Linked DNA regions of Homo sapiens: region 1 is linked to region 2. Evidence: promoter capture Hi-C in 16 types of primary human blood cells and fetal thymus (Javierre and others, 2016). All regions are on one chromosome and are shown on one strand. Each heading gives the region's core, a stretch centred on a gene start or on the middle of the fragment in contact. The rest is flanking DNA. Distances are from core to core; before and after follow the strand shown.

Evidence for each region. The method cuts DNA at HindIII sites, captures the fragments that hold promoters and counts their contacts. A CHiCAGO score of 5 or more calls a contact.
Region 1: a fragment that was not itself captured here is called in contact with the fragment with the promoter of FXYD3 in region 2 in 4 of 17 cell types (total B cells, naive B cells, total CD4 T cells and 1 more); the score reaches 10.2 in total B cells.

What each region holds. Positions count from the first base shown.
Region 1 is chr19:35,410,743-35,418,311 of GRCh38, forward strand. It overlaps LINC01531 (long intergenic non-protein coding RNA 1531), which reads left to right. Exons shown (of 5, transcript NR_040046.1): 4 at 420-540; 5 at 5,737-6,098. It also overlaps the pseudogene RN7SL491P. Among named protein-coding and RNA genes, the nearest start is that of LINC01531, 8.9 kb to the left of the region's middle. The HindIII fragment of the contact is 289 bases long and covers 1,909-2,197 here.
Region 2 is chr19:35,109,361-35,117,119 of GRCh38, forward strand. It overlaps FXYD3 (FXYD domain containing ion transport regulator 3), which reads left to right and starts at 6,463. Exons shown (of 9, transcript NM_005971.4): 1 at 6,463-6,599; 2 at 6,904-6,999. It overlaps LOC124904701 (hepatitis A virus cellular receptor 1-like), which reads left to right. Exons shown (of 3, transcript XR_007067238.1): 3 at 3,987-4,309. RefSeq lists an enhancer at 1-501. The HindIII fragment of the contact is 1,620 bases long and covers 5,471-7,090 here.

The sequences.
Region 1 (7,569 bases), core at 803-3,302, 300 kb after region 2:
GGGAAAGCAAACAGGTCCTTCTTCACATGGCAGCAGCAAGAAGTGCAGAGCAAAATGGGAGAAGCCATCTGATAAAACCATTAGATCTCGTGAGAACTCACTCACTATCAGGAGAACAGCATGAGGGTAACCCACCCCATGATTCAATTACCTCCCACCTGGTTCCTCCCATGACACTTGGGATTATGGGAACTGCAATTCAAGATGAGATTTAGGTGGGGACACAGCCAAACCATATCACCATGCATGGCCAAATAATAAGTGTACAGGCCAAATAAACTATCACAAATATCACAGAGTGAACACACCTATTTAAGAAAAAGCAAAAAGTCTACCATATTATTTTGTGCTTTTTATTTCCCTCATCTTTTATTTTATTTTATTTTATTTTATTTTATTCTATTTTATTTTATTTTCAGACACAGTCTCACTCTGTTGCCCAGGCTGAAGTCAACGGCATGATCTCAGCTCACTGCAACCTCCACCTCCTGGGTTCAAGCAATTCTCGTGCCTCAGCCTCCCAAGTAGCTTGGATTACAGGTGTGTGCCACTATGCCTGGCTAATTTTGGCATTTTTATTAAAGACGGGGTTTCACCATGTTGACCAAGCTGGTCTTGAACTGCTGACCTTAGGTGATCCAACCACCTCGGCCTCCCAAAGTGCTGGTATTACAGGTGTGAGCCACCTTGCCAAGCCATCCCTCACCTTTTAATATTTCTTTTTTTCTTCTCTCTAGCCTTCTTTTGAGATTCAGTTCGTTTATTTCTTTTCTTTCTCATTTCATTTATTCCTCCACTGACTTGGAAACTGTATGTTCTGTTTCCATTATTTAGTGGTTATTTTAAACACTGTAAGATGGTAGGAGTTCCTCAATGAGTTACTCCCTCCCTCCCTTCCTTCTTCCCTTTAATACCACACATCAAGGAAAACCCAACCCAAGTAGCTTCGAACTATGTGAATCTAGGGCAGCAGTTTTCAAAGCACTGTCTGTGAGGTCAAAACTATTCATAATGCTATTAAAATGCTGATTGCTCTCTTCACCTTCATTATCTCACAAATAATGTGCACAGTGGAGGTTTTGAGAGCTACGTGACGTGATATCATGACGGAATGAATGCAGACCAGATAGGAAAATACAGCTGTCTTCTATTAAGCCAGGCATTAAAGAGATCTGCAAAAATGTAAAACAATGCCACTGTCACGAATTTTTTGAAGATATAGTTGTTTTTTCTAGGAACGTGTCATTTATATTAACATGTAATGGTTTTATGGTTATTATTATTATAAGATAAGTTAATACACATTTTTAAATTTTTCTGTTTTAACTTTGTTTTTTTTTTGTTTTTTTTTTTTGTTTTTTTTGATACGCAGTTTCACTCTTGTTGCCAAGGCTGGAGTACAGTGGTGTGATCTCGGCTCACCGCAACCTCTGCCTCCTGGCTTCAAGCGATTCTCCTGCCTCAGCCTCCCAAGTAGCTGAGATTACAGGCACAAGCCACCATGCCCGGCTAATTTTTGTATTTTTAGTAGAGACAGGGTTTCACCATGTTGGTCAGGCTGGTCTCGCACTCCTGACCTCATGATCTGCCCACCTCAGTCTCCCAAGGTCCTAGGATTATAGATATGAGCCACCACGCCTGGCAGGAATTTTCATTTTTGCTTTTCTTTCCTTTTTTTTCTTTTTTCTTTTTTTTTTCGAGACAGTGTCTCACTCTGCCACCCAGGGTGAGTGCAGTGGCATGAACACAACTCACTGCAGCCTCGTCTTCCCAGGCTCAAGCAACCCTCCCACCTCAGCCTCCCAAGTAGCTGGAACTACAGGTGCACGCCACCATGCTCAGCTAATTCTTGTATTTTTTGTGGAGATGGGGTTTTGCCATGTTGCCCGGGTTGGTCTCAAACTCCTAAGCTTAAAGCAATCCACCTGCCTCAGCCTCCCAAAGTGTTGGGATTAGAGGGGTGAGCCACCACACCCATCCCTTCAGTAATTTTCAAGAGTATAAACCGACCTTGAGATCCACAAGTTTGAGAATTGCTGACCTGGTGAGATGACAGACAGGATTACTCTGCTAAGTGCAATTGTGCACATATAAAACCTTCTGCTACCTGATGTGTCTTTAATGATTCGAAATTTCATAAAGTCTAATGCCACTTAACCTCTCAAAGTGAGTTTAAAGTTTGCCTGATAAAATGCAAAGCTTGTTGAGATATTAAATATGATACTTAACAATCAGAACTATTCCATGAGGAGATAAAGAAGTAACAAAGCCGGCTCAGATGGATGGGATGTAATTGCGCCGCACAGACCTGTATTCACCATGTTATGTTAGTTCCTGTTCTAAAGATGCTTTTTTTTTTTTTTTTTTTTTTTTTTTGAGACAGAGTCTCGCTCTGTAACCCAGACTGCTGCAGTGCAGTGGCATGAGCTTGGCTCACTGCAACCTCCGCCTCCCAGGCTCAAGCAATTCTTATGCCTCAGCTTCCCGAGTTGCTGGGATTACAGGCATGCGCCACCACACCTGGCAAATGTTTGTATTTTTAGTAGAGATGGGGTTTCACCATGTTGGCCAGGCTGGTCTTGAACTCCTGGCCTCAAGTGATTCATCAACCTCAGCCTCTCAAAGTGCTAGAATTACAGGTTTGAGCCACCGCGCCTGGCCTAAGGATTGTTTAAATTGGAGTTTTTCTTCTTGTTTTATGGGGAAGGATTACTTCATCTACAATTAGGTGGAATATTAACCCAAACTATATGTAGGATTTCCAATCTTAGAGGCTATAGGAACTGGGGGAGAAGGAAAGCATAATACTAATTATATTTGTCCTATGTCATCCTAGGGAAAGTGCATATTTAATTCCTGTCAGCAAAGATTAAAGAAAGATTTTCAGGGCAAAAGTTATAAACAGGCTTAGTGTGTTTTATTTTGAACGGGGGAATTCACAAAGCCTTTGTGAAAGCCTCAATTTTACTGTTAGACTACTTGATAGCACCTAGTTAATATAAGCTAGGGCGATTCAACTAGTTCCATTGCACCTCCCGGTAAATAAATGGTTCCTGAGGCATTGTGTTAAGCGAGGAATGGAAGTTTGAAGGTTACCGGCAAGGCTCCTTCAGCCCTCTCCGGTTTTCAGGTTAATGGTGGGGAGAGTGAGTGTCCACCAGAAAGGGACTGTGATGTGACGTTAGGTCACTTGATTTCTGTAAACTTATGGGAGACCTTTCTCCTAAAGATGGGCTCAAGATGCCACCATTTACAATGTTACTCTCAATGACCTTGGGGAAGTCCTGCTCCTAGGGGTGGGACACAGTGATAAGAGGGAGGGGTGTGCCGGGCATGGTGGCTCATGCCTGTAATTCCAGCACTTTGGGAGGCTGAGGCAGGCAGATCACCTGAGGCCAGGAGTTCAAGACCAGCCTGGCCAACATGGCAAAACCCCATCTCTACTAACAATATAAAAATTAGCTGGGCGTGGTGGTGTGCAGCTGTAATCCCAGCTACTTGAGAGGCTGAGACAGGAGAATCACTTGAATCCAAGAGGCAGAGGCTGTAGTGAGCCAAAATCATGCCATTGCACTCCAACCTGGGCAACAAGAGCAGACACTCCGTCTAAAGCAAACAACAACCAAAAAAAAAAAAAAAAAACACAAGAGGAAGGGGTGGAAGAGTGTACTGATTGTTGGACCCTGAGGATTGCAATTTTATCATAACATTCTCTACAGTCTCTTTTCAAAAATGAACCAGCAATCAGAGATGGCACCGATTGGTTTGGCCTTCTTAGCAACATCTCTCCCTTGTCCTCTGCCATGTGGTTTGGTGGAGCTGACTTTACCCCCAGCTCCTGCTCCAGGGGCAGGTGTGAAACCAGGACCCTGCTCATCTACAGTTCATCCTCTGACCACAGTGATGGTTCACACTTGGGTGCATGACTCAATCCAGACCAATGAAAGATGAACCCAGGCTGGGCATGGTGGCTCACATCTGTAATCCCAGCACATGGGAAGGCTGAGGCAGGCGAATCAGTTGAGGTCAGGAGTTTGAGACCAGCCAGGCTAACTTGGCGAAACCCTGTCTCTACTAAAAATACAAAAATGAGCTGGGCGTGGTGGTGCACACCTGTAATCCCAGCTACTTGGGAGGCTGAGGCGGAAGAATCACTTGAACACGGGATGTGGAGGTTGCAGTGAGCCAAGACCATGCCACTGCACACTCCAGCCTGGGTGACAGAGTGCACCCACTGTGGATCCAGCCTTTTTTTTTTTTTTTTTTTTTGAGACAGAGTCTCACCAGGCTTGAGTGCAGTGGCGTTAATCTTGGCTCACTGCAACCTCTGCCTCCCAGGTTCAAGCAATTCTCCTGCCTCAGCCTCCTGAGTAGCTAGGACTAGAGGCGCGCACCACCCCGCCCAGCTAATTTTTGTATTTTTAGTAGAGACGGGGATTCACCATGTTGGCCAGGATGGTCTCGATCTCTTGACCTCATGATCCACCCACCTTGGCCTCCCAAAGTGCTGGGATTATAGGCATGAACCACCGCACCTGGCCAGCCCTTCTCTTTTAACCACCAGGAGAAAGAACCTCTCTTCTACTGATCTTGAACTTGAAGGCTGGTCCCTCTCTTCTGGGGGCCATTGTGAAGAGAGGCTGCCTAAGCCTGAAGTCAACTTAAAGGAAGGTGAAACAGAGAAAAACCACACATTCAGGCATTTGATGTCCTAAAGCAGATCTACTCTGGGGATTTTTAGATTTGAAAACCAAATATTCTCCTTCCTTAGCTTAAAGCAAGTTTGAAGCTGAGATGGACATAATGTAATTGCTCTGCACAAGCCTGTATATTCATTGCTTTATGCTCATCCTTGTTCTAAAGATTAGCCTTTTGCCCATTTTCTAATTGAATTGCTTGATTGTGTTTTGTTTTACTATTGAGTTTTGTGAGACATTTATTTAGAGTGTCTCGCTCTGTTGTCCAGGCTGGGGTGCAGTGGCATGATCTCAGCTCACTGCAACCTCCGCCTCCCGGGTTCAAGTGATCCTCCCTCTTCAACCTCCTGAGTAGCTGGGATTACGAGTGTACACCATCACACCTGGCTAATTTTTGTATTTTTAGTAGAAATGGGGTTTCACCATGTTGGCCAGGCTGGTCTCAAACTCCTGACCTCCTCAAGTTGATCAGCCCACCCCGGCCTCCCGAAGTGTTGGGATTACAGGCGTGAGCCACTGCACCAGCCAACACTGAGTCGTATTTCTTTAGATTTTTGTGATTGATGTTCCCATTATGCTTCTCTCTCACTGAATCTCCTACCTTCTTCATCAGAGGCAGCGTCATACTGGACTTTAAGTGCATCCTTCCTGTCCATGATTTTAAATTGTACCTTGCAAATATACTTTGCACCTAAACACTGTTTAGTATTCTTTTGCGTTTTTTCAAATATCCATAAATACCTATAGTACAAGTCATTCTGCAACTAGCTACTTTCTACCCCAAATCATCCCTTTGCTATCTGGCCTCCATCACTAAACCTTACATATCTCATTGATTTATTTTGTCTGCTCTAGCAGTCCATCATATTAATAAGACGAGTTTTATTTTTTCCATTCTACTATTGATAGACATTTAAATCACTTCCCATTCTTTGCCAGCATGACAATGCTGCTTTGAACATCCCTGTGTGTGTCTCTTCGCGCACACGTGGAAGAGTTCTTCCACTGGTAGGCACAGCATTTGCATTCTCCATTTCAGTAAAAGCTGCCAAGGTCCTCTTCAACGTGATGGCGTAAATCCAGCTCTTTCTGCAAGAAGGCTCACCAGCCTTCCCACCAGCTCTTCTCCCCACCCCAGCCCTGCAGCCCTGCAGCCTGACCCTAGGTAATGAGTGGTGGGGAGTGACCCAGGCATGCACGACCTGCCCAGAGGAAAGGGAGTTCAAAGAAGGACCCGAGACCCTCACAGGAACCTAGCAGATTGGCACAAGTGCCAGATGTATCCAGGACAGACACTTTCCCCAGGACTCCAGGGGTAAAGGAGTGCCCCACCTCTCCACTCCTTGCCTTTCTTAACTGAATTCAGATTGTCGTGAACATTCAAGAAAAGCATTGTGGCTGACTTCCAAGGTTACTACTTGAGTCCATCACTACAGCAGTTACTACTCTTACTGCTCCAGACCGTCATTACAGCAGTTACTACTGTTACCACTTGAGACCATCCTTACAAGACTGAAGGAAGGGAGGAACGTAGAAATGAAAACCAAGGAAAAAAAGAAACTGCTTTAAGTAAAGGCTAGCATGGGGAAGAAGAGAGCTCCCCGCTTCTAGTGAGCAAAGGCAGCCCCCTTATTTATTGGGTAACAAGAGCACGAGGAGGTGGCAACAATTGGTCAGCTGCTTAATTGATCAGAGGTTCATGTTGTTACTGACAGGCTTCTATTATGCCTAATCATAAGAAACATTTGTTCAGCTTCCAACAAAGCTGAAGTTTAAATGATGCAATTACATTCAGCACAGAGGAGTATCTCCCCCAATCCCACCATATAAAGAGAAAGCACATGCATGCAGGAGAGAAACAGTGAATGGAAGGCTAGGAAATCTTGGTCTTGGAGGAGAGTGCAGATTGGAGATAGAGGGAAGGGGAAAATAAGATGCTGGGATCTTGAGGGAGGATGTGGGGTGGTGGCCAAGCTCCCTGGTTCATGGGGATGAGAATGAAGCCTCTGTTGGCTCTGGGTCATGTGACATGGGCCAAGATAAGACATGGTTCCTGCAGAGAGATGGAGCGTGGTCTGTCTGTCTTGTGCTCATGTGTCTGTGTCAAATGGCTTCCGAGGGAACTAGAGCCACTTAGGTCTATGTGGTTTAAGGAAAGCACAAGTGAAAAGAAGCCAGGAATAGTGCAGAGGTAGGGGATGGGACACCAAGACATGAGGCCAGAGTGTGAGACAGAATCAGAGCTCCTGCCTGCAGAGAATGATGGGCTGTGTGAGGAGCCCTGGCCCTCTGCGGACATTTTAATAAGTGGCCCCACTTTCTTAGGTGCTCATGTGTCCGGGGATTCTAGGGAGGTTTTGTGAGGCTGAGCTAAAAAAAATAACCAATTCCAGCTAGGCACAGGGGCTCACGCCTGTAATCCCAGCCCTTTGGGAGGCTGGGGTGTGAGGATTGCTTAAGGCCAGGAGGTCAAGGCTACAGTGAGCCATGATTGTGCCGCTGCACTCCAGCCTGAGCAAGAGGGTGAGACCCTGTCTCAAGAAACAAGCAAACAAAAATAACCTATTCCACTTTGACCCTGAATAGGGAAAACTGACCAAACAAGGAGAGTAGCCAGAGGCAGGGATGGAAGCATAGGAGAAACTGGCAGTGGACAAGCTCCTTTGGAATAATCCACCAAGAGAGGAAATGAAACAGAATGCCTGAATGAATTATGAAAGCAGAACAAAGTCTGAAAGAATAATCAGGGCTTGAGATCTAGAAAGGATCAATGAGATTTGTGGGAACAGACTTTCAGGGGAAACACAGAGGGCTAAGCGGCCTGAGAAACAGCTCAACTCTTGACCTTCCTCTTCCTGACACATAGCAAGCT
Region 2 (7,759 bases), core at 5,213-7,712:
AGCTATTCTCCTGCCTCAGCCTCCAGAGTAGCCGGGATTACAGGCATCCACCACTATGCCTGGCTAATTTTTATATTTTTAGTAGAGACAGGGTTTCACCATGTTGGTCCGACTGGTCTTGAACTCCTGACCTCATGATCCGCCTGGCTCAGCCTCCCAAAGTGCTAGGATTACAGGCGTGAGCCACCACGCCCGGCCGCCCCTGTTGTTTTTAGTACTCCGTGCACTCCCTGCAATCACACAGGGTGTGTGTGCAGCCAGACGTGGGGTGGAATCCTGACTGCCCGTTAATTAACTGGGTGACTTTCCGCTAAACAACTAAGCCCGGGTGCCGCAGTTTCCCTAAGTGGAAGAATAACTCTCCGCAGGCAGTTAAGTCCTGCAGCCACAAGCCCCCGGATTATTGGTTGAGAATAGAGAGACAGTCAGCAATCGTAGGTAAATGACTCAGGCCCGAGCAGGGGTGTGGCGCTGGCGCAGGCTGAGTGCGGCACTGCCTTCTTGGATACCAGGGTGCAGGGGGAAGGGGATGTGGAGATGGGTCCCGGCTGCCAGCAGGCTGCTGGGTCAGTGCCTCCCCGCAGCTGAGGGTGCCAGCCAGGATCTTAGAACTGCAGACTCATGGTCCTGCCTCTGCAGCCAGGAGGGAGCCTGCCAGCCCCAGCACCAGCCTCAGAGCCTTGGGGCTCCCACCGTTAGGGGGCTGGGGCTGGGTGGCCAGGAGGAGTTAAGTCACCCACAGCCAGGAAGGGGCAGAGCTGGGACCCAAGGGGCTGTGAACGGTGAACTCATCCAGGAGGAAGGAGAAGGAAGACATTGTGGGAGGGCCAACAAGAACACAGGCAAAGGAAAAATATATAGACAGTAAAAGGAAAAATATATATAGATAAAATATTCAATATATAAACTATAGTAATATACATAAATATAGAGTTTCTTAAGTTCATTTAAATTCTGTTTCCTTAACTGTTAGTTTACCTGGTTCTAAATTTACTTTTCCTTCCACTTTTTCGGTGTTGTTTTTTATCTTGTGATTTATTATTTTGTGTTAACTTTAATATTACATTTTTAAGGGCTGGGCGCAATGGCTCACGCTTGTAATCCTAGCACTTTGGGAGGACCAGGCGGGCGGATCACTTGAGGTCAGGAGTTCGAGACTAGCCTGGCCAACATGGTGAAACCCCATCTCTACTAAAAAATGACAAAAAATTAGCCGGGTGTGGTGGCGGGCACCTGTAATCCCAAGCTACTCAGAGGCTGAGACAGGAGAATTACTTGAACCTGGGAGGCGGAGGTTGCACAGTGAGCCAAGATCTCACCACTGCACTGCAGCCTGGGTGACAGAGCAAGACATTGTCTTGAAAAAATATATTGTTTAATTGATTTTTTTCCCCAACTTTTGAGATTTTCGACTATAGAAAAGTCATGTAACCCGTACAATCCACTCAAATACCCTTCACATAGCTTCCTCAATTCTTAGTATTTTGCCTGATTCGCTTTATCTCTTTATATCTATGTAATTTTCTTCTGAGTTTCTGTGTCTCACTTTTCCTGTCCCTATTTACTTGTCCAGGCGTTTTCAAAAGACTCAGTCTTCTCTGTTGTTGGTTGACCAATAAATAAATATTTAGCCTTTTTCTGGAGGGAGATCACAAAACAGGACAGAGCTCTTCCTGAATCCTTCAGGCGGATTCGCCCTCTCTTCCTGTTCTGCGGAGGACAGTCCTGGGGCCTTTGCTGTGTCAACCATGCCCCGAGGCACCCCAGAAGCTGCATCTGTCGAGTCTGTGCTGTAATCATGGCCTTGAAGGTGGAAGGCAGGTCTGAGATGGGAGGTGACAGGAGCAGGTCTGGGCCGGAGCAACCGCAAGCGCCCGTCTCCTTCTCTCCCTCCCTCCCTCCCTCCTTCCCTCCCTCCCTCCCTCCATCAAACCAGGCAGAGCTGGGGCCTGGGGCACCCCAGGGAGACAGACCTGCCACCTCAGCAATGGCTTCCAGGTGGGAATGGGGGTCTTTTAGTCCAGACTTTTCCAGAGATGCTGGAAACACAGCTTGTCCTGCTGTTTAAATGTTTGCAATTATTAATTTTTGCAATGCTTTGTAAAAACTAAAGGTACAATAGTTGGGTTCCACCCTGGGACCGCCAGTTTGCAATCCTTCTCTTAGGGACTGAGTCAGGCTGGGGGGGGGGGGCGGGCTGCAGGGCTCCCACTTGAACCAGAAGTCCCTGTCCCAGATGTCTAGCTCCAAATGTGTTCCCTGCCCTTTCCTGCTTCCCTGTAGTTCCTGCCCGCACCCAGGACCCCCAGCCATCTGCCCAAGCCCTCCCCACCCCCACCACGCCGCCCCCACTCCCCACATGATGGGGAAGCTGGCCAAGACATTCATTCCTCCACACCCCCTGCCCCCATCAGCAGCTCCACCCTCAGCACCCCCACCTCAGCTCCTCCTGCAAGGCCTCCGTGGATGGGGGGTGGCGGTGGAGAAAGCCTTTCTTTTATAATTGTTTTAAACCTACTTTTATTTTTATTTTTGTAGAGACAAGATCTCTCTATATTGCCCAGGCTGGTCTTGAACTCCTGGACTCAAAGGATCCTCCAGCCTCGGCCCCCCAGAGTGCTGGGATTACAGGCGTGAGCCATGGTGCCCAGCCTGGTAATTAACAGATACTTCGTGACCACCCACTATGCACCAGGCCCTGTTCTATAATTCAGATGAAAATCCCTGAGAGGAGCTGACGTGCTAGCAGGGGAGGCAGATAGCACCACAAAAAAAAAAAAAAAAAAGCAAACAGAAGTCAAAAGGTCATAGAGAGGTCAGGGGGTAGGTGCGATGGTGGTCGGGGAAAGCCACTTGAACCTCATGGCTTTGAGCTGTCCAGATGCGGGAGAAAAGAGAGCCAGGCAAGGGAATAGGCATTGCAAGGGCTCTTGGCCAGAAACATGCCTGGAGTGATCCAGGAACGGCAAGGAGGCCCAGGTGGCCGGAGCAGAGTGAGTGACAACAGGGGTTAGGGGGAACCCTGAACCTCCCCTGAGTTTCCCTAGTCTGTAAGATGGGGGTCTCCAACCGGTGGCCCCAGGGCCTTATCCAACCACTGGATATTTTTCATTCTGTCTACAAAGTGTTAAGAAAACGAAGTTACCAACATTTAAAAATCAGGGCCGGGTGCAGTGGCTTGCACCTATAATCCCTGCGCTTCGGGAAGCCAAGGTGGGAGGATCACTTGAGACCCAGAGTTCAAGACCAGGTTGGGCAACATAGCGAGACCCCCGTCTCTAAAAAAATTAAAAAATTAGCCAGGTGTGGTGACGTGCATTTGTAGTCCCAGCTACAGGGGAGGCTGAGGTGGGAGAATCACTTAAGCCCAGGAGTTGGAGGCTGCAGTGAGCCATGATTGGACCACTACACTCCAGCTTGGGCAACAGAGCAAGAACTCACCTTAAAAAAAAAAAATCCGGAAGGCCGGGCTCGGTGGCTCATGCCTGTAATCCCAGCATTTTGGGAGGCTGAGGCAGGCGGATCACTTGAGGTCAGGAGTTGGAAACCAGCCTGGCCAGCACGGTGAAACCCCGTCTGTACTAAATATACAAAAATTAGCCGGGCGTGGTGGCACACACCTGTAATCCCACCTACTCGAGAGGCTGAGGCACGAGAATTGCTTGAACCTGGAAGGCAGAGGTTGCAGTGAGCTGAGATCGTGCCACTGCACTTCAGCCTGGGCGACAAGAGCAAAATTCCATCTCAAAAAAAAAACAAAACAAAACAGGAGATTTCATCATAAAAATCTCCATTTCTAGCTTCTGTGGGTGAGTGATGACGTCAGAGCAGCACAGAGGCAGGTGTCAGGGAGCCTGTGGACTCTTGGCCACTGTGTCACCTCACATGGCTCCTGGAAGCCAGGCGGACAGTGATACGTCCACAGCCACACCATCCCCATGGTGGTGGGACAGGGTTACCTGCCAGTGCCCACTCTTCTCCCACAGGTGCTGAGACCACAGCGCTGTTCCACAAAGCCCCAGGAAGCCACATTACCCTGTCCACCGGCCTCTCTAGCCCCATCTTGCCCAGGAAGTGGGACCTTGGCGTATCGCTGTGACCACACCTCCCAGCCGGTCAGCCTGGCCGCTCAGGCTCTACCTGCAAAGGCAAGGCCCCACCCAACCAGCACCCCTCTCATGGCTGGGGGTGCCTCCAGGCTGCCCTCTCTAGGGCCAGGAGCCTGCAGAAACGCTCCCAGCCTTGAATAAAGAGCAACGAAATTATTGAAACAAAATCAATAAAAGTTTGAATCAGGGATGGTATAACATGCTCTGGCTTTGATTCTGTGCTTTAATTCAGCGTTCCTGAAAAACTTATGATGTCAGAAACTATCTGTAGGTTTGGTTTTTTTCATTTTGCAAGAATTCCCAGGATATGGAGAAATCACAGCCACTCACAGCCTTAACAGGTTCTTTGGGCCCAAATGATTCCAAAAGCAAAACGAGAGAAACTTTTTCAAATATGTTTATTATGTATATTATATACAATATATTAATAAAACATATTACCTACATGCATTTAAAACATAACTGAAGTCAGATTGGCCCAGAAGACTCACTCCAAATGAGACCTAATCCCCAATAGGGTGCAAGTGACTGCACAAACTCTACTCCTCACAGCCCTTCCTAAGACTCAGTGTGCTCATCACACTAGGGTCTCAGAGTCCTTCTGACCATAAACCCAAGCCCCAGCGCCAGCCCAACACACACTTGGACGCAGCATGTTCACGTCCAGCCTAGGAAGAATTTATGGTTGACCTGGATTGGGTAAAAACCGTAAACGTCTGTACCTCAGAATGTAAGATCATGGTGTTTAAAACTACAGAACATTCAGAGGTTGTCAGAAGTCTCTAATTGCTGGTCCCCCAGGTTGAAACCAGCCCTTAGGTTGAAATTTTGACCTGCAAATTTTTTTTTAAATCTGAACCAAATTTTTTAAATTAAACCCCTTTAAGGTAGTACATTTTCAAGATGCAAAATTCAAAAAATATAAGAGGGCACGTGATAATGAGTGAGTCTCACTTCCACCCCACCCTCCAGCCTCCCAGTTTCCCTCTCCAGAAGCCATGGGTATGGATGCCAATCTCCAAAAATATTTTATTCATTACAAGTATATACATATGCATTATTTTACCGCTCACAAATGGTAGCACACTGCACGGTTTCCCAATACCTTGTTTTTTTTCCCCTTAGCAAGCTGTCTGGGAAATACTTCTGTATCTAACCACGGGCAGGGGTGTTCCTCCAAGATTTTTAGACAACAGTTCTCCAGTTCACCCCGTTCCGGTGAAGGGCAGAGCACCCCCCGCCCTTCCCAGCCACCCTGTACACGCCCCTACTCGCTCTCGGATGCCTGCAGTTCCCAGGCTTCCCAGCAGAGGGAGACACCATTCCACTCCCAAGACCACCAAGGGGTCGTCCCAGACACAAGCTTCAAGGGTCTAGGGAAGAGACGCTATCCGCCCAGACACAAAGACCCCCCTTAGCTATACTGAGTTGGCCTCCGGGCCTCCCCTTCCTGTTTCTATCTCCTCCTGGACCTGTTGCTTAGAGCCCTACCCCGAGGTCCCCCCGCCCGGCTTCCTTATGGGAACTGGCCCCGCCTTAAGAGTGGTAGGAGGGAGCCTTACCCTTGTCTAGGACCTGGGCTTGACAACTTGCCCCAGGGAACCACATAGAGAAGGGGTGTAGCGCTGGGCGAACATTGCCCTCCCCGATCCCTCAGCGATGACAAGTGGGGGGTCCTTCTCTCTGCCCCCAGCAGGCCAGTTTCCGGAAGAGCCTTGACCCAAACCCCCTTTTCCTGTCCTGTGCTCCACACTCCCAGCAGCTGCTTCTCCCTGGCCAGGCCCTGCAGCCCTCCTCCCCGCCCCCACGGTGGTGTTGGGGTCGCCTGGAGTCCAGCTGGTGTCCAGGGCAGAGCTACCCCTTTCCTGGCCCTACCCCTCCCCGTGACCCCAATCCTCCGCCAACCGCTCAAAGGATCCTTGTTCTCCATCCAGCCCCCAGACAAAAGTCCCTCTGTCTAAGAAGGCGGAATTGAGGGGAGGGGGCACCCCCAACTGGGACCATGGGGGAGCCTGCACAGACCCCATCCGGAAGGAATGCCTGGAGGAGGAGGAGCAGGAGACAGGGGAGGAAAGGGGGAGGGAGGCTTGTACAGTGCTGGGGGCCTTATGTGGACTAGGAGGCAGCCGCCCCCACCAGCACCCACTCTGTAGACCCAGGCGTCTGGCTCCCAGCACCCACGGAAAGAGCCTGGCTAGGAAACTGCAGCCTGGTGCCTGGCAGACAGTTCTCATTCTCCCCAGGGCAGGGAGCAGGTTATGACCAGGACTAAGGTCCCAGAGTCCCCACCCTGACCCCTCCCTGCTGTTCCAGCCGCTCCCTCATATCCACCCCTGCCCCATCTCCTGACTTTGGTCACGCTAGCATCTTCTGCTGATCCTGAAATTGTACCAGCGGCAAGATGTGGCCTGGAAGGGGACTTTAAGTTCTCCACAACTGCCAGCAATCCTTCCACCAGGCAAAACACATCATCTAAGGAAAAGAAGTGAGGTCGGAACACCAACGCATCATCTCACTGCATGGCCCTGGAGGCTCTGCCGTTTAAAGACCCCAGAACCTTCCCCATTCAAGGTCCTCTCCTGGGCACAGGAGATTGGAGAAAGCTCCTCCCTTAATTCCAGGGGCCGAGTTCCAGCCCATCCAATTCTCCGTCTCACCTGAGGCTGCTGTGGTCCTGGTGACCCCAGGGAGCAACCTGCCGCCCATGGCTGGGGAGGGGGTGAAGCTGTCTCTTTAAGAGCAGGAATGGAGCCCCTGGGCCTCAGGGCATCTGACTTGTTTTCTACCTGCCCAGGTTTGCTTAGGGCGTGGCAGCTTCGGATAAACGCAGGACTCCGCCTGGCAGCCCGATTTCTCCCGGAACCTCTGCTCAGCCTGGTGAACCACACAGGTGAGCAGCTGGGGCCCCTTCCTCCAAGCCCTCCTTGTCTCTGCCCCTAAATTAGGAAGTATCTACCTGCCCCCTGACCCTGCCCCATAGAAGCTTTTATGTTAAAGCGCCTAAAATCTTGTGAAATGCTTTTCTGGAGCCAGGAGATAAACGGAAGTCCCTTCCCCTAATGTCCCTTTCCCCACCATTCTCCTCTCAGGGACTTGTTGAACCAGCTGAGGTGAGGGCAGGACTGATAAGTGTGGTTGGGGTGTCTGAAAGACTAGTGTCTGCATGGATTAGGGATATCTGGGTTGGGGATAGCTGGGTGGAGGAGAGGGGGTGCCTGGGTAGGTAGGGGTATCTAAGTGGACCAGGGGTGCGTAGATGGACTGGGGACATCTGGGTGGATGAGGAATGCTGGGTGGACTCGGGGTGTCCAGACATTGAGGGATCTGGGTGGATAAGGAGTGCTGGGTGGACTCGGGGTGTCCAGACATTGAGGGATCTGGATTCTGGAGACCTCCAGGAAAAAAGGATGGAGCTGCTGGGGGAAGCTTTAAATGGGGAGTTGCTTGGGAGATTTCAGGAGCACACAGCGGGCAGGATCTTTCTACCCACCCCTGAACATGAGACCATTCTCCCATGGTATGGAGGAATAGAGGGGATAGCAGAGGGCAGGTGGGGGAAACAGTCCTCAGGCCGGCCTTGGGACCTCATGGCCAGGAAGGATGAGAGCAGGTAGACAGAGCATCAGCTGCAGGGCTGCCTTCCTCTCTAA